2 separate regions of the Homo sapiens genome follow, and region 1 is linked to region 2. The links are contacts of gene promoters, found by promoter capture Hi-C in blood cells and fetal thymus (Javierre and others, 2016). All regions are on one chromosome and are shown on one strand. The core of a region is centred on a gene start or on the middle of the fragment in contact, and the rest is flanking DNA. Distances in the headings are between cores, read along the strand shown.

What was found. Contacts are between HindIII fragments. The CHiCAGO score rates a contact against its expected background, and 5 or more counts as called.
Region 1: a fragment that was not itself captured here is called in contact with the fragment with the promoter of SLC45A1 in region 2 in 1 of 17 cell types (total B cells); the score reaches 5.0 in total B cells.

The regions. Positions count from the first base shown.
Region 1 is chr1:8,858,730-8,865,280 of GRCh38, reverse strand. It overlaps ENO1 (enolase 1), which reads left to right. Exons shown (of 12, transcript NM_001428.5): 9 at 1,189-1,390; 10 at 1,938-2,046; 11 at 2,336-2,394; 12 at 3,852-4,281. The coding sequence ends at 3,921. Among named protein-coding and RNA genes, the nearest start is that of MIR6728, 4.6 kb to the left of the region's middle. RefSeq lists an enhancer at 2,457-2,751. The HindIII fragment of the contact is 2,516 bases long and covers 2,299-4,814 here.
Region 2 is chr1:8,315,911-8,322,039 of GRCh38, reverse strand. SLC45A1 (solute carrier family 45 member 1) reads right to left here and starts at 3,926. Exons shown (of 9, transcript NM_001080397.3): 1 at 3,854-3,926. RefSeq lists a silencer at 3,817-4,096. The HindIII fragment of the contact is 5,366 bases long and covers 856-6,129 here.

The DNA of each region.
Region 1 (6,551 bases), core at 2,307-4,806, 540 kb before region 2:
GTGTTCCCCGAGTGCCATCTCCCTTTCCTGCCACTGACCTGCAGCAGGGCAGCTGGAGCATCTGGCTGGCTGGTGATGGCTGCAAGGAGGGGATGGGGAGGGAGTGTCTGAACTTCCAGCTCCCGTAGGGGATTCACCACTGGGTTTGCCCCCAGTTGTGCATACACAGGGCTTCACAGAGGTTCTTGTGTAGCTAAGGAGCTCGGGTGCCAGCAGCGACATTGCATAATAAGTTGTTCACAGTCAGGAGCAGAGGCAGTCTGTGCTCCATTAGACAGGTGAGGGAACCAAGCCTTCAGAATCAGAACAGCCACTTGGTACTGAGATGTATCATGCTTCCTGTGAGCTGGGAATATTCATTTTAGGCTGTGTGTGTGCACAGGATAGAGACTGTGACCACCTTTCTACAGGAGAGGAAGCTGATGGCTGGCTGAATAATCTGCCCGAGAGCACACAGCAAATGGTGGGGCAAGAATTCAGACCAGGAAATCTGACTCCAGAGTCTGTGTGTTTAACCACTACCCTAAATAACTTGGTCAAGGTTGAGCCAAGACCCAAACTCAGGTCTTCTCACTTCTGAGTCTGTGGCTCCATTCTGATTTTCAGTGGCACTAAACTCAAACAACCCTAGACAAAAAGTGTCCTCTTCTTACAGGTCTTAAACAAAATTTTTGAGGCTGGGCATATGGTGGCTCACGCCTGGAATCCTAGCACTTGGAGAGGCTGAAACGGCATCACTTGAGCCCAGGAGTTTGAGATCAGCCTAGGGAACATAGCAAGACTCCATTGCTACAAAAAAATAAAATAAAATAAGTAGCTGGGTAGGTTGGCATACCCCTATAGTCCCAGCGACTCAGGAAGCTGAGGTGGGAGGATCATTTGATCCCAGGATTTCACAGCTGCACTTAGCTATGATTGCACCCCTGCACTCAAGCCTGGGTGACAGAGTGAGATTTTTTTTGTTTTAGATCTATAGATACCCAGGATTGTGGGTGACTTTTGTCCCCTGCTGCAGGAGTAGGCTGGGGCACATTGTTTCAAGGATCAGTTGGGGAGCTGTCCCCATCCTATGCTTTTGGGCATTGTGAGGCCAGGCGAGCAGCAAGTCAAGGGGGAAGCAAGGCTGGGCATTGCGGTGGAGCACACTGGGAGGATCACACTGATGAAGCGTGTCCCTCCTTTCCTTAGTGGTGTCTATCGAAGATCCCTTTGACCAGGATGACTGGGGAGCTTGGCAGAAGTTCACAGCCAGTGCAGGAATCCAGGTAGTGGGGGATGATCTCACAGTGACCAACCCAAAGAGGATCGCCAAGGCCGTGAACGAGAAGTCCTGCAACTGCCTCCTGCTCAAAGTCAACCAGATTGGCTCCGTGACCGAGTCTCTTCAGGCGTAAGTGTCTTCCCAGGCGAGCAGCTTTCCCGCAGCTACGGCTTGTGAATCAGAAAAGGGCCCTTTTGTTCTGGTGATGGGGAATCCTGCTGGCCAGAATGTAGGACTCGCTGGAATTTTAACAGGTTTTGTGTTTGAACTCAGGAGCCTTTTAAATTAAACAATTGGGGCCTGTAATCCCAACATTTTGGGAGGCCAAGGCAGGAGGATCACTTGAGCTCGGGAGCTCAAGACCAGCCTGGGCAACATAGCAAGTAGTTGTATTCTGTGAAGAGCTCTGTCAGAGAACACTAATCTTTCTCCCATCAAGGGAGGCTGAACCCAGTGTTTCAACTATGACAGGAGGGCTAAGAAGGTCCTGGGGGTGGAAGAGTTCAGGGGAGGGTGAGGGTTCTCCTCTGTGCTCTTGACAAAGCCCAGGCATGGAGGGCTTTAGCCATTAACAGCCCCTCCACTGCTTTCCTGCTGGCACCGAGGGGTAATGGCATTGGGGGTTATGGAACCAGAAAATGGGATCATGCCATCTGGGTTGTTCCTTGGCTTCCAGGTGCAAGCTGGCCCAGGCCAATGGTTGGGGCGTCATGGTGTCTCATCGTTCGGGGGAGACTGAAGATACCTTCATCGCTGACCTGGTTGTGGGGCTGTGCACTGGGCAGGTAAGAATGAGCGTCTCCTCCTTTCTTCTCTGACCTCAACTTCCTAGGAAGACCCAAAACCAGTGAGGCTCCATGTCTGTCCCCGTTTTGCTCATGTCCCCTGAGTCAGTGCTCTTGTTTCTGAGGCTGAACAGAATGGGGGCATGAGCGCCCTGCCTGTATGTTGTGGCCCCCACTTTCCTAGCATCAGATCCTCTAGAAATTCTCTCTCTGACACCACACCCTCTCCCTGCCAGAAATGCCTGCAAAGCTTGTCCGCTGTAAGCAAATGGCCTTTCTTTTCTCCTAGATCAAGACTGGTGCCCCTTGCCGATCTGAGCGCTTGGCCAAGTACAACCAGCTCCTCAGGTAAGGAGGGCTCCTGAGAACAAGGGGCCTGTGGTTCACTAGGTGGGGGCCTGCACTCAGTGTAGGCACTGCCCTCCCCCAGGAGCTCCTGGCTCTGGGAACATGTACAGGTGCAGGTGCACAGTGCAGACAGCCAGGCCCTGAGCAGGCTTAGGTCAGGACAGAGTTAGGCCTAGACTCCCCCTACCCACCCACTGCAGCGCCACCAGAGGCAGGAGCCTGTTCCACACAGTGCTGCCCTCTTCTGGTGAGAAAGAATGGGACCCCCTTTGACAGCTGATGCATGACTTTCTTAGAGCTTTCAGAGAGCTCCTTCATATGATCTGTTTCAGCGCATTTAACCCCTGTTTGTGGATGTGGAGCCAGGGCTGGGAGGGAGGAAGAAAAGGCCGAAGGGCACATGGCTGGGTTTCCACTTGTGAGCGCTGTGGGGCTGTTCTGGTCTCCCTTTCCTGTCTGTGTCCTTGGGAAGCCCCTGAACACCAGGAGACTTGTCCCCCCGCCCGCCACCCCGCTAAGTTCTCCCATATTACCCCTTCATTCAAACTGTATCCTGGAAATTTTCAAACATATACAAAAAAGCAGGTGAACAGTAGACGCAGGGCTTTTTTGTTGTTTTGTTTGTTTGAGACAGGGTCTTGCCATGTCACTCAGGCTGGAGTGCAGTGGGGCAGTCATAGCTCACTGCAGCCTCAAACTCCCATTCTTTTTTTGCTGGGGAATTTTATTTTTATTTTTTTGAGAGGGATCTCACTCTGTCGCCCAGGCTGGAGTGCAGTGGCTCAGTCTTGGCTCACTGCAACCTCTGCCTCCCAGATTCAAGCAATTCTCCTGTCTGAGCCTCCCGAGTAGCTGGGATTACAGGTGCCCACCACCATGCCTGGCTAATTGTTTTGTATTTTTAATAGAGACGGGGTTTCACCATATTGGTCAAGCTGACCTCGGGTGATCCTCCCACTGTGCCTGGCCCCAAAATGTGTTGGCCTTTTTTTTTTTTTTTTTTTTTAACATCAAGATCCAAACAGCTCACACATTTTGTCTTTTAATAAGGTCACTCTCCTTTTCTCCCCATGCCATTTATTTGTTGTCCCTTCAATATTTTTTAAAAAACAAAAGCATTAGAATTTTTATATTCCAAGAAATGGCAATGCTGACATTTTACTTTGCTCCTCTGCAACACTGACGGGGAGAGGAGAGGAAGAGAAGGGGCGGTGGGTGGAGGGCACCTAGCATGGTGAGTTGGGATGAGGAGAACTAAATACTTTTCTATATCTGGCTTCTCAGAGAAGCACAAGTTTAGAGGGTTTAAAGAAGGTGGACAAACTGGAGAGTTCTGTGTTCTCAACTTCCCAGGAGTGGGGCTGTGTCTTTGACCACATCTAGGATGGGAAAACTTAAAACTTGAGGTCTGACTTTTCTTTTTTCCTCCCCATCTCTTTACCTTTCTCCTTCCCAAGAATTGAAGAGGAGCTGGGCAGCAAGGCTAAGTTTGCCGGCAGGAACTTCAGAAACCCCTTGGCCAAGTAAGCTGTGGGCAGGCAAGCCCTTCGGTCACCTGTTGGCTACACAGACCCCTCCCCTCGTGTCAGCTCAGGCAGCTCGAGGCCCCCGACCAACACTTGCAGGGGTCCCTGCTAGTTAGCGCCCCACCGCCGTGGAGTTCGTACCGCTTCCTTAGAACTTCTACAGAAGCCAAGCTCCCTGGAGCCCTGTTGGCAGCTCTAGCTTTGCAGTCGTGTAATTGGCCCAAGTCATTGTTTTTCTCGCCTCACTTTCCACCAAGTGTCTAGAGTCATGTGAGCCTCGTGTCATCTCCGGGGTGGCCACAGGCTAGATCCCCGGTGGTTTTGTGCTCAAAATAAAAAGCCTCAGTGACCCATGAGAATACTCCGTGTGCCTGTGTATGTCTGGAACAATCTGGGTCTGTCCTTAGTGTTCAGGGGCCCCTGGCGAAAGGGTGTCGGCCTTTGAGAACCAAGGTTTGGTGTCGTAACAGAAAAGGATGAGGATCCATTGGGGTCATTTTCCTGGGTCCTTGGGAAGGGAACCAGAGGCAAAGGCAAGAGAAGAGACATACACGGTCCCTCCAGGATAGTGGGGTCAAAACAGAGTCTAAGCTGGAAGGCAGAGCGAGACTTTGTTTGGACACCTTGTTTGGAAGAAACTTCAAATGCAGGCCTATTTGTAGATAATCTTAAGGATGGTAGCTACTAGGTTACACAGCCATATTCAGACCAGAAGGACTTCAGGGTAAAGGTGACCATCCTGGGAAGAGATGTTCTCTTCCCAGGGTCTCTTCCTGGGGAAAGCAGGTGAAAGAAGGATTAAATGGGAGCTCTGGGCAGGAAGGCAGAAGGGCATCAAGAAGACCTCAGGACCCGATTTAAATGAATGAATTCCACTCCTCGGTTTCTCAAGCTTCAGGTTTCATGTGTCCGGTAGCTGCCATTTGTAGCTGCTGCCCACTGCATTGGATTAAGCAGATGGAAAACTTGAATGTTGCAGCAAGTACTGTTCTAGGGTAATGCTGAACACGGGGTGTGAAGAATACGTTTATTAAAAAGTGAGAGATGAAGCGAGTTGTAGTGGCTCATGCCTATAATCCCAGCACTTTGGGAGGCCAGGGCAGGCGGATCATCTGAGGTCAGAAGTTCAAGACCAGCCTGGCCAATATGGCAAAACCCCGCCTGTACTAAAAATACAAAAATGAGGCCGGGTGCGGTGGCTCATGCCTCTAATCCCAGCACTTTGGGAGGCTGAGGCTGGTGGATTACAAGGTCAGGAGTTTGAGACCAGCCTGGCCAATATGTTGAAACCCCATCTCTACTAAAAATACAAAAATTAGCCAGGCGTGGTGGCAGGCACCTGTAGTCCCAGCTACTCAGGAGGCTGAGGCAGGAGAATCACTTGAACCCAGGAGGCGGAGGTTGCAGTGAGCCAAGATTGCGCCACTGCACTCCAGCCTGGGTGACAGCGCAAGACTCCATCTCGAAAAAAAATAAAAAATTAGCTGGGCTTGGTGGCATGCGCCTGTAACCCCAGCTGCTCAGGAGGCTGAGGCATGAGAATCGTTTGAACCCAGGACGTGGAGGTTGCAGTGAGCCAAGATCACACCACTGCACTTCACCCTGGGCAAGAGTGAGACTCCGTCTCAAAAAAAATAAAGAGATGAGAAACTGTGGTTGCCATCTGCACCTTAAGAGGTCCCATATTCTATTACTTGATTTTTCTCCCTAAAAGAAGTATCTTGAGTTGCGCGTTCCAATGCACAGTCAGGGAGCTGGGGAGCCCTCTTGTGGACATTCTTGTTCATTGTTAATGTCAGGATTTAACCTGAGAAGCAGAACCAATAAGGAGAGGTAAAGTTAGCCAAGCATGTCGGCGTAGCTATGGTCCCAGCTACTCAGCAGGCTGAGGCCAGAGGATTGCTTGAGCCCCAGAGGTCAAGGCTGCCATAAGCCAAAATCGCACCACTGCACTCCAGTCTGGGTGACACAGTGAGAGCCTTTCTCAAAAGTAATAACTGGCCTCTGATTGTGGGGCCTGGATAAGCACGTCTGAAATTCACAGGGCTGCCAGTGGGAAGGGACAATGGCCAGCAGCAGGCTGGAACTCCAGGGGCTTGGGTGAAGCTGTCATTTCACAGGTGAAATTTCTGTCTTGAAACCTCGGTTTTTAAGACCACCTCACTAGCTGGGTGCAGTGGCTTGCACCTGTAATCTCAGCACTTTAGGAAGCTGAGGTGGGTGGATCACCTGAGGTCAGGAGTTTGTGACCAGCCTGGCCCAGATGGCGAAACCCAGTCTCTACTAAAAATACCAAAAAATTAGCCGGGAGTGGTGGCGTGTGCCTGTGGTCATAGCTACTCAGGAGGCTGAGACAGGAGAATTGCTTGAACCCAGGAGGTGAAGGTTGCAGTGAGCTGAGATCACGCCACTGCACTCCAGCCTGGGTGATGGAGGAAGACTCTCAAAAAACAAAAAAACACCTCGCTTATGGAGTTGGGCAGATCTAGAGTAATTAGGATAATTCCTTAACGTCTACTTATTAGTAGCTTTAATTACCGCTGCAAAATAGCTTCACAGTAATACCTAGATTAGTATTTGATTGAATAACTGGGGAATCGTCAAGTTGATATATCAAAGCCATCATGGTTC
Region 2 (6,129 bases), core at 2,677-5,176:
CCCACTCACCCATCCATCCATCCATCCATCCATCCATCCATCCATCCATCCACCCACCCATCCACTCATCCACCCATCCACTTGCCCACCCATCCACGTATCCATCCACCCACCCACCCATCCATCCATCCATCCACCCACCCATCCATGCACCCATTCATCCACCAGCCACTCTTCCATCCACTCACCCACACATCCATTCATCCATCTTTCCACTCAGTCATCTACCCATCCATCCTTCCACACATCCTCTCTTCCATTCATCTATTCATCTGTCTATCCAAAAACTATCCACACATCCACCGACCCGTTCTTCCACCCACTCCTCTATCCATCCTTCCACTCACCCATCTACCTATCCCCCCTTCCAAACATTTACTCATCCACCCACTCACCTACCCAGCCTCCAATTCATCTGAGTACTGAGTACCAAGACACTGAGATAAGAGAGATAAAAGACACAGTTCTTGTCCTTGAGTTAGGTAAAAAGGTGGAGGAAAGGGCCTTCCTGGGGGGTAGAATCATTGGGTAAAAGACAGATATGAGTAACAGTTGGGCACAGTGGGGGTGGGGTGAGAGATGAAGCCCTCAGGAAGGTCTTAGCTAATCATGGAGGGCCTTGAAGCCTTGCTAAGAGATGGGTTTTATTCCAAGGTGACAGGGAGTGATATAGCAGAGACAGAGTCTCCTGTCACTTCTATAAAAGACTTATCCTGTGGCTTTGGAAAATACCACGCTTTCCTGTAGGAAGAGAACAGATGAACCTAAGAACCATGTAGACAAGTAATACTTCATTTGAAATAGAATTCATTTATAAGGAGTAAATCAAGATTAACATGTTTAAGAAGCTAAGCTTATTTATGTTCCTCACTGGCCTAGCTCAAGCACTTCTGCATGGTAAAACCTGGTGATTGGCAGGTCTTCCTTTCAAAACCCCAAGCAGCAGTTAGCATCCCCTGGAGCTTCATTCATCAAAAGCACAGAAATAGAGCGCCAGTTCCAACACTGTGTAAGACCATCTCCTTCAGAGTCAGAGGCGAGACCCAGCACAGGTGAGGTGGACGGTTGGATCGGACTCCGCCCAAAGGTCACAGCCCCACGTATGCTCTCAGTGGCCATCTCCCTTTCTGTCCCTCTGCCCAGCCTCTCCCCACCTGCAGGCACACAGGCATATCTCCCACTCTTTCTAATCAGCATTTTAACCATAATGTGAACTTAAGTGCATTAGAAACCTTCCCTTTAAATTTGGAATGAAGAACTGTGGCCCAGTTTGGAAAAACTTCAGCTTTAAACAGCATATGGCAGGTGTGTGTGTGTGTGTGTGTGTGTGTGTGTGTGTGTGTGTGTAGAGAGAGAGAGAAACAGAGAGAGAGAGAGAGAGACAGACAGACAGACAGACAGACAGAGTCTCCCTCTATCTAGCCCAGGCTGGAGTGCAGTCATCATCGCTCAGTGCAGCCTCAACCTCCCTGGGCTCAGGTGATCCTCTCACCTCAGCCTCCCAAATAGCTGGAACTACAGGTGCACACCACCACACCAGGCTAATTCTTGTATTTTTTTGTAGAGATGGGGTTTCGCCATGTTGCCCAGGCTGGCCTCAAACTCCTGGGCTCAAGTGATCCACCTGCCTTGGCTTCCCAAAGTGTTGGAATTACAGGCATGAGCCACCATTCCCAGCCCCTGAAGTGTCTTTTTGAAAAGAGGAGCCTCTTTGACCTTATTTAAAGTGGACTATGTAGACGGCCCACTTCTCTACCTGCAAGAGGACAACTCTACTGCCACCTCCGCCACACCCCACTGCAGCCTGTCCTAGCAGAAGGGAGATCCTCACACACTCAATGAACTTCTCTCTAGCATCTGAACCAGAATTAAACCTAGCTTAATCCTGGCTCAGAAGAAGTCTTTACTAAGGATTCATCTTCAAATCTGGGGATCAGCATTACCATTTTTATTAAAACTACATTTAGTAAAAACTGTTCACAAATGTTTATCATAAGAAGAATTTTAGAAACTCATTTTTGAGACCGGGCACAGTGGCTGACGCCTGTAATGCCAGCACTTTGGGAGGCCGAGGTGGGTGGATCACCTGAGCTCAGGAGTTCGAGACCAGCCTGGCCAACATGGAGAAACCCCGTCTCTACTAAAAATACAAAAAATTAGCTGGGCATGGTGGCGAGTGCCTGTAATCCCAGCTACTCCGGAGGCTGAGGCAGGAGAATCGCTTGAACCCAGGAGGTGGAGGTTGTAGCGAGCTGAGATCGCACCACTGCACTCCAGCCTGGGCAACAGAGTGAGACTCTTGTCTCAAAAAACAACAACAACAACAACAAAAATCCATTTTTAAGGTTCCCATAAAAATGGGTGAAAGTGGAATTTAAGATCATAAAATCTAATTTTCATGCACAAATACAAACATTCGCCAGACCATCTTTACTGTACCATATGACCATTTACTCGGTCAAAAGGAAATCCACTCATCTCCCTGGATCCCCCGAAGGCTATGCAAGGGGTCCACTGTGCTTCCAGAGTACAGAGGATGCTTAAAGTAACAGATTCCTCAAACTGTGTTGTGGGAAGTTTAAGCGGCAAATGATTAATAAAAGTAATCAATGTCAATGTAGTTTGAATGCTTACAATGATCCTACTACGAGCGGAAACCATTTCCTCATTTCTTTCTTCTCGTTATGAAAATGAGCTCCCCCCACGGGGTTGCCTTGGGCCACCTCCCTTCCTAGGGCGTATTTGCTTATTTGTTTATTTGAGACGGAGTCTCACTCTATCGCCCAGACTAGAGTGCAGTGGCATGATCTGGGTTCACTGCAACCTCCGCCTCCTGGGTTCAAGCGATTCTCCTGCCTCAGCTTCCCAAGTAGCTGGGATTACAGGCATGTGCCACCACGCCCGGCTAATTTTGTATTTTTAGTAGAGATGGGGTTTCACCATGTTGGCCAGGCTGGTCTTGAACTCCTGACCTCAGGTGATCCACCCGACTCAGCCTCCCAAAGTGCTGGGATTACAGGCATGAGCCACCGCGCCCGACCCCTCATGCTTCTTTCTACCCATTCTCAAAATTCTTCAGTGAGGTCCTCCAGGACCAGGAAGGTGCTCTACGGACTTGGGAGGGTGCACTTAATAGGCTAGTTACTGAATCGTGGCCGTTTCCCACTTTGCATCTCCGGCAGCTTGACCCCTACTCCAGGGCCAACTTTTCCCAAAAGCCCAGGCCAGGTGCAGCCTGAACGTGGCTTTCCTCCGCCCCTGACTCTGCTTCCCTGTAAGAGCTGAAAAACATGCACGGCTGTCACTCTAGAAATAATTAGAGAAGTTGCTGATTGTCGAGGGCAGAAGGAGCTGAACGGCTTCCACCTCAGCGCGTTCCCCTTGGTGCTGACTCGCTCGGGAAAGGGGAGTCCTCGGTGCCCTCGCTAAGTAACCCTGGGATGCTGAGGGGCGTTGCCAGGCCCCTGGTCAACAAGAGGGCTCAGCCCCACGCAAGAGGTGAGCCGGGAGCGGATGACACCTGCCCAGGTGACTAGGGACCAGGCCTCCGGCTCAAGGAGCGCATCAGGAGCTGGGGCCAAGGCCGGGGTCTCCTCCCCTTGCCAGCAAGGATGAGAGCACCTGCCATCTGGCCGGCACCCTCCCCTGGGCCCGAGGCTCCTGCCCTCGGAGGGGCGAGACGGGGGAGCTCCGTGGACTCTGCAATTCATGAGACTTCCACGAGGAACAAAGGTCTCCGTGCCGGCCTCGGGTCCCGGTCTCGGCGCCCTGACTACCCCGGGGCCCAGGGCGCGGCGCCCCGGCAGGCACGGAGCCAGAGAGCGGGCGGAGGGCGCGGAGGAGACGGTGGTACCTGTGGGTGGAGACGGCAGGCATCCCTGTCCCCGCTGGGCTGCTGCCTGCCCGGCCGCGGTCCCGGCTGCTGCAGCATCACCCGGGGCGGGGCGCTGACGTCACGGCCGCAGCCTCCGCATCCGCGCGGGGCCCGGAGCCTTAAAGCGGCGCCGCGTCTGGGGCCCCGCGGGCGGGAGGGGAGCCCGGTGTCCTCCTGGGCCCTTCCCGCGGGAGGCCCGTCCCGGTGCTTCGCGCACGACGGCGCGGTCTGCAGGATCTGCCAGGATCCCGGAGGAAAACGTCCCCCCGGCCTCACAGTTCTCACCGTTTTCTTCTGATTTTAAAAGAAATAAATACATTTTCGTGTCTTCATGTATAAATAGATACCCATGTGTTCGCGGATACGTGAATGCCGCAGTGCGTGTGCCAAGCCTGTGCCCATGTGCGCAGTGGGGCAGCCGGGCCTGCTGGAGGCGTCGCGACTCTGGGCCCGGAGCTGTCCAAGGCACTGGGGATGCCGCAAGAACAAGGCAAAGTTCCCGCCCCTGGGGGAACTTTGTAATGTAAGTAAATACATAAATACTTTATGTATTTATTATTTACTTCATTTTTTAAAATACAGAGAGGCAGGGCCTTGCTATGTTGCCCAGGCTGGTCTCGACTCCTGGGCTCAAGTGATCCTTCTGCCTCGGCCTCCCAAAGTACAGGTGTGAGCCACCGCACCCGGCTGCATGACATTTAAGAGAGAGACACACACACATTAAACAAGACATAAAATAAATGGTATGTCAGAAGATGGCAATGCCCTAGAGAAGGGGTTAGGGAGTGTGGGGCTGCAGAGGCGCTGGCCTTGCAGGTTTCTATCAGGTTGTTGGCGAGTCCTCACCTGGAAGGTGACACTAGAAGGAGGATTTGCGGAGCAGGCCGGGCACGGTGGCTCACACCTGTAATCCCTGCGCTCTGGGAGGCCGAGAGGGGCAGATCACCTGAGGTCTGGAGTTCGAGACCAGCCTGGCCAACATGGCAAAACCCCCATCTCTACTAAAAATATAAAAATTAGCCACACGTGGTGCTGGGTGCCTGTAATCTCAGCTACTCAGCTGAGGCAGGAGAATCGCTTGAACCTGGGAGGCAGGGGTTGCAGTGAGCTGAGATCGTGCCACTGCACTCCAGCCTGGGCCACAGAGTGAGACTCCATCTCAAAAAGAAAAGAAGGACCTGAGGAGCTAGGGGGGCCAGCCAGACTGACGTGTGGGGAAGGTCACGCCAGGCACTGGGAAGAGCAAGTGCAAAGGCCAGGGGCAGAAGTGAGCTGGGCTGAGTCCAATAATTACGGATGAAATAATTATGCAGCTGGTAGTGGAATAATAACCCCAGGGAAGCGCTGCAGAGTGGGGGCACGGGGCCCTGTGGAAGTTTACCGCGGCGGATTCCACCCCATTGGGAGGGTCGAGGGCTCCTCAAGGAGCCCTACCAGGCCAAGTAGAGAGAACAGCATGTCCCACACAGAGGGCTCAGAGAGCTCTGCACTGGCAGAGCTCCGGAGGGGAGAGGGCCTGGAGGCACACTGCAAAGGAAGTGGAGGGGGACAGGGATGCAGAGGCCTGGGAAGGAGGTGAGGGCTGGGGAGGTGGGACAGGCCCAGGTGTGGCCTCTTAGGCAGTTGCCAGTTTCTAAGAGCAAAGAGAAGCCTAGAAAGGTTTTATGTAGGGGAGTGGATGGCATGAATCCTATTCACAGTTAGCAAAGATCATAAAGCTCAGAGTGAAAACAGATTGGAGGGAACCAGGGGACCACATGGGCGTACCGGGTGGCACAGGTGGGAGAGTTGGGGGTGTTGGTAGAGGGAGAGAGGTGATGGACTGGCCGGGGACTTAGGACTCCATGATTGACTGAAGGTGGGGGGGTACAGGAACAGCGAGGGTGGTGCTAAGAAGTTTCTAGCTTGAGCGATGAGGGAAGAGAGTGGATTCATGGAGGCCAAAGCAGGTGTGTGCTGGAGTGAATGCCATAGGTTTGCTTTGGGATATGCTGAGCTTGAGGGCCTTCGCAGCCTCTAGGCCACCAGACACTTGGGTCTGGAGCTCAAAGATGCTCCTTTATGAGTCCCCTGCACATGGGAGCTAATTGCAGGTGAACTGTGGACCTCGCACTGCCAGGGAGAGGCGCAGGGCAGAGGGCCCCAGAGGACACCATGGGAATTTCAACAGATCCTGCCCAGGCTGAAGAGAAGGAGCCACTGGAGGGGGCTGGTTCTGGCTTCTTTTATCTCTATAACAGGGTAACAGCTTGAAA